Linked DNA regions of Homo sapiens: region 2 is linked to region 1. Evidence: promoter capture Hi-C in 16 types of primary human blood cells and fetal thymus (Javierre and others, 2016). All regions are on one chromosome and are shown on one strand. Each heading gives the region's core, a stretch centred on a gene start or on the middle of the fragment in contact. The rest is flanking DNA. Distances are from core to core; before and after follow the strand shown. Region 1 holds the start of ATP1A1-AS1 (ATP1A1 antisense RNA 1). Region 2 overlaps WDR3 (WD repeat domain 3).

The links. The method cuts DNA at HindIII sites, captures the fragments that hold promoters and counts their contacts. A CHiCAGO score of 5 or more calls a contact.
Region 2: a contact is called between a fragment that was not itself captured here and the fragment with the promoter of ATP1A1-AS1 in region 1, in 1 of 17 cell types (total B cells). The highest score is 5.5, in total B cells.

Annotation. Positions count from the first base shown.
Region 1 is chr1:116,417,182-116,420,110 of GRCh38, forward strand. ATP1A1-AS1 (ATP1A1 antisense RNA 1) reads right to left here and starts at 1,441. Exons shown (of 3, transcript NR_027646.1): 1 at 1,278-1,441. RefSeq lists an enhancer at 1,266-1,560 and a silencer at 1,520-1,649. The HindIII fragment of the contact is 1,476 bases long and covers 571-2,046 here.
Region 2 is chr1:117,932,829-117,935,528 of GRCh38, forward strand. It overlaps WDR3 (WD repeat domain 3), which reads left to right. Exons shown (of 27, transcript NM_006784.3): 2 at 460-662; 3 at 1,645-1,854. The coding sequence starts at 492. Among named protein-coding and RNA genes, the nearest start is that of WDR3, 4.4 kb to the left of the region's middle. The HindIII fragment of the contact is 2,966 bases long and covers 1-2,700 here.

The DNA.
Region 1 (2,929 bases), core at 191-2,690:
TACAATTCACTTTTTTTTTTTTGAGACAGGACCTGACTGTCACCCAGGCTGGAGTGCACTGGCATGATTACAGCTCACTGCAGCCTCGACCTGCCAGGCTCAAGCCATCCTCCCACCTCAGCCTCCAGAGTAACTGGGACTACAGGCATGCGCCACCACATCCTGCTAATTTTTATATTTTTTGTAGAGATGGGGTTTTTGCATGTTGCCAGGCTGATTTCAAACTTCTGAGCTCAAGCCATCTGCCTGCCTTGGCCTCCTAAAGTGTTGGGATTATAGGCAAATGAGCCACCACGCCAGCCCACAATTCACTTTAAACACAAGTGAAACACATTTCATTAGACAGTGGAATAGACTTATGTCAATTTTCTTTTCTCTCTTATTTTACACAGTCTGATTTCCTGAAGACAGGAGGCGGGAGTAAGCTAATCAGGCCCTGAGTTAGCTGTTTCCAAGAAGCTTAGAGTGTCCCACTTACCTACGGGTTGCAGGGCCCGCATTGCCAGTAGGGCTGGCTTTTAGGGATGCTGCTGTTGGTGTGTGCTGTACTTGTTTTCTAGGATTGGGACAAGCTTCCTTGAGCTCCTGACTTTAGAGACCAGGTTTGGGAACTGATGGGTGCAGCAAATGCAAACAGACAGCAAACAGGCCAAAGAGGAGATTCATTCACTGAAGAGGGCCCTGGTACAGTACTGTCGAGGTTTTGCGGTGGCCTGGACACGGCTGGCTCCTTCGACTTACACAATATATCTTCTCTCTCTCTTACCTGCACTTATAAGAATCGGTGCTAAGGGTATGTGCCTACCACAGTGCAGCTTGTAGATTAATGAAGAAAGAATTGCTGCCACTTCCCAAATATTAAACGCCAGGTTCTGCCTATGCATATTCTCTCAACCTTCACAACACACCTACTAACTCCAGCTTACAAATGAGGAGACGAACCAGCAGGCTGTTCCAGGCGTCTGGTTGTAAGAGCAGTGGCAGTAGAGAAAATGATTTATTTTAGCACCAGCCACTGTGCTAATCCCTTTAGATATCATCTCATTTAATCCTTTTAACAACCCTGAAGCACCATCCTTATTCTAAAGGGACTTCGGACCTCTCTGCGGTCCACACTGTCCCCTGCTCGGTGCAGGAGTGTAGACTGGGACTGTTCCGTCTGGTGGTCTCCCCGACAAGGGTTCACCTGGAAACTGGCCTTTGGGCTGGGATTGGGACTCTGTACTTAGGCTGGCAGCCCATATTAGGACTGGGCACCGTGATAAGCACTTTCTTACCGCAAATGCACGATTTCACTCGGCCCTCACACACCCCACGAGGTGGGCACCGTCACAGTGCCATCTCACAGGCAAGGAGGCCAGGCCCAGGCCCTGAGGATGCGCCGCTCAGGTGGGAGCTTCCGGGGAGCTCGCGCGACAGCCTGGGGGAGCGCGGATTCGTCTCTGCGCTACGGCGGCTGCAGAGGGTCAACCCGCGGAGGCGGCGCTTCGCGGCGGGTCCTCGGCCTGAGGCTGTGGGATGCCTCCAAACCCGGCGCGGCCTCCGTCTGCAAGGAGAGCAGAGGGTCCCCGCCGGGAGCGCGCCCGGCTGCGGCCCCAGGCGGCCCTGCCCGCAGCCGCCACCTGAGCTTGGGCGCGGCTCCTATCTCCCACCCGCGCGTCGGCCAGTGAAGGGCTCCGTGCTTAAACATCATTCGTTACAGAAGTATTGCGGCCATCACACGGCATTTTAAAAACACGAATGATGATAAATAACTTTAACACTGCTTCCAATTCTGCCTCCAAGCACAGCATCATTACCATTTGCATGCGTTTCACTTCATTCGATTTCCATGTGTATGGATTTGTTTCTACATAGCTGTGGTAAAACGCACATACTAAACTGAATCCAGGGTTGTTTTCCACTTTGTAACATGAACATTTTCACCGTGTTAGTACTGACGCTTCCTACCTATAATTTTTAATGGCAGGACTTTAAAAAATTGGGTTGATACGCTGTCACTTCTCTGAGCATCTCGCAAATGTTCAACATTCAAGTGGCTTCCAAAGCTTCACGATTATAAATTATTCATTCTTTTTTGTTTTGTTTGGTTGTTTGTTTGTTTGTTTGTTTGTTTTTTGAGACGATGTCTCGCTCTTGTCGCCCAGGCTGGAGTGCAGTGGCGCGATCTCAGCTCACTGCAACCTTCGCCTTCCAGGTTCAAGAGATTCTCCTGCCTCAGCCTCCTGAGTAGCTGAGATTACGGGCATCTGCCACCACGCCCACCTAATTTTTGTACTTTCAGTAGAGACGGGGTTTCATCATGTTGGCCAGGCTGGTCTCGAACTTCTGACCTCAGGTGCTTCTCCCTCGACCCGGCCTCGGCCTCCCAAAGTGCTGGGATTACAGCACTTTGCTGCCCAGCCCATTCTTGTGTATAAAGTCCTTTCAGTATTGAGATCAGTTTCCTTAGGTTATATTCACAGGAGTGAAACTGCTAAGTCAGAATGTGAGCATTTAAAAGCTTTCAGTATTATTGCCAAATGGCTTTTCACAGATGACTCAGGGAGGTTTTGGTACTTGGAACACTGCTACTTATATCCCACTCCCCCCCCCCCCCACCAGGAAAACATCTAAAGTGCACTTTTTTTTTTTTTTTTTTTTTTTTTGTGAGACGGTATCTCGCTCTGTCGCCCAGGCTGGAGTGCAGTGGCGCGATCTCCGTTCACTGCAAGCTCCGCCTCCCAGGTTCACGCCATTCTCCTGCCTCAGCCTCCTGAGTAGCTGGGACTACAGGCGCCCGCCACCACGCCCGGCTAATTTTTGTGTTTTTAGTAGAGACGGGGTTTCACCGTGTTAGCCAGGATGGTCTGGATCTCTGACCTTGTGATCCGCCCGCCTCGGCCTCCCAAAGTGCTGGGATTACAGGCGTGAGCCACCGCGCCCGGCT
Region 2 (2,700 bases), core at 69-2,568, 1.5 Mb after region 1:
TAGGTCAATGATTCATTTAGAGTAAATAAAGATTAAGAAGTCACAAGTTACATGCTTTTAATGACATGATCAACAGTTGGTGTTGTTCTGGCGCAGTGGCTAACACCTGTAATCCCAGCACTTTGGGAGGCCGTGGCGGATGGATCACTTGAGGTGAGGCTTTCGAGACGAGCCTGGCCAATATGGTGAAACCCCATCTCTACTAAAAAAAAAAAAAAAAAAAAAATTAGCCGGGTATGGTGGCACATGCCTGTAGTCCCAGCTACTCGGGAGGCTGAGGCAGGAGAATCGCTTGAACCTAGGAGGTGGAGTCAGCTGTGAGCCAGGATCCCACCACTGCACTCCAGCCTGGGCAACAGAGTGAGACTCTGTCTCAAAAACAAAAAAACAGTTGGTGTTTACTAACCTAGTAGAACCAAGGCACCCAAGGAGCTGAGTTTTCTTTGTTTATATGCACAGATTGCTTCACCTGTGGTATCAGACATCACAACATGGGGCTCACCAAGCAGTACCTACGCTATGTTGCTAGTGCGGTCTTTGGCGTTATCGGCAGCCAAAAAGGTAATATTGTCTTTGTGACACTTCGTGGTGAGAAAGGACGTTATGTGGCAGTACCAGCTTGTGAACACGTTTTCATCTGGGACTTAAGGAAAGGAGAGAAGGTGAGCCTAAAATGACCAGTTTGATACTGATTTATTGGTATTTGAGGATGGAGAGGTAGTAGAAGTGGGGGGGCTCTGATTTATTTATCATGAGTTTTTTTGTGTCTGTGCCCTTAGAAGAAAAATCTTTTTCCTTTAGGTCTAGCTAGCCAAGCATCAAGTTCCTTTGTGTTCTTCGCCACTGAATTCTGAAAACCACAATGAAATAGGAGCTTATTTCTTAGATGTCTATTTGTTGGAATATTTACAGGTCATTATTTGCAGTAATTATTTATTCCTGATGTATTTTTTCTCTACCAATTCTATTTTTCAAGCTCGACTTATGCTTATAGCTGGTTATAAAATATTAGGCATGTAAAAGGAAGGTTAGTCTATTTTGGCAGAATCTTTTTCTAATATGGATAATGCCCAAGTGTTGTTAAAGTAGACTTTGATACTTTGTGTGACTGAATTCCCTAAGCCTACCACTTTTGCCAAACCAAATATAGGCATTTTGATATTGTCCATTCATTTTGTGATTCCCAAGAGGTTAGTACTTTGATTCTTGTTGCCACCAAGAGTCCTTTGTGGTTAAAACCACTGCAGTACTCTGTTGCCACACAGATTATTTTCTTATAAAATGGGTCTCAGTTAAAGGAATTTATAAACCTTTATTGAAAATCACGTAGTGTTGTTCTAGGGTTAAGAATTAGATTAAAGGGATTAAATTTATTTTATTGCCTAGGGAGTTTTTATATGTATTACAACAACGTAGGGCTTTGGAGAAAATAATTAAGCCTTTTCTTAAATGTTTCATTGCCTAGTACAAATACTAATTTCTATATTAAAAAACTTGAAATGGATTGTGGAGTTTCATTTTTATTCATAAGAGTAATTTGGAATTATTGGTGCTCTTAATTTTACTGTGCCTGAGTATTCCTATGCTTTTCCCTTGAGTTCATGCTTAACTCTTCTACATTGTTTTTAATTTTTATGATTTCAGATTCTTATCCTTCAGGGGCTTAAACAAGAAGTTACTTGCTTATGCCCCTCCCCAGATGGGCTACACTTAGCTGTTGGGTATGAGGATGGGTCGATCCGAATCTTCAGTCTCCTGAGTGGGGAAGGAAATGTGACCTTCAATGGTCACAAAGCAGCTATCACTACCTTGAAGTATGATCAGCTAGGAGGCAGACTGGCATCTGGGTCCAAGGTGAGCCTTTGAATCAGCCCAGGCTTTGATCTATTAAAGGAATGTAAGGCTTATGCTGAAGCAAGTTGTTGACAAAAATTGTCAGGTAAAACAATGGGCTGTCAATATACAAAGTAGTATAATGATAGAGTGAAGAGGATGGGTGTGAATTGGGTGGTTCATTTTGTTTCCTTTTGTTCATTTTGTCATATTTTCTGATAAAAGCCTCTTAAGTGTAGGAATAAGATGAAGAGAGCCATGATAACTCTTATTGTGGAAGTGCTACGCAAAACAGTAAAATAAGGAAAGAAAACAAAGACTGGAAAAGAAGAGACAAAATAATTATTTGCCATTGACTTCTGTAAAGTCAGTAGAATTTCCTGTATCTCACAAGTCATGAGTTAGAAAATATAAAAGATTCCATTCACAACAGATTAAGTAACAGACATAAAAATACCATGAAACTTTACTGAAGAATGGAATAGAAGACTTTTATAGAGATATAATCCATGTTCTTGAATGGGAAGACAAGGTATTGAAAAGATGGTAGTGTTTTCTAATTGATTTATATAGCTAAAGCTATGTTTAGACATATGTTTATATAGATACAGATATATTTAAATAGATATCTTAAAGGTTTTAGTTGTTACTTAGAACTTGACCTAATATGGAAAAGCAAAGGAATTGGAAACACTAAAATTTGGGAAGAAAAGAATAATAAAACAGGGGTTTTAGATATTAAAATGTCATATAAACCCATAATTTAAGAAGTATCATATTGATACTTCAATGCAAGTACCAATGCAAAATAGATTATTGCAACCAAATGGAAATCTCAGAAACACATCCATGATTACATTCCTAATT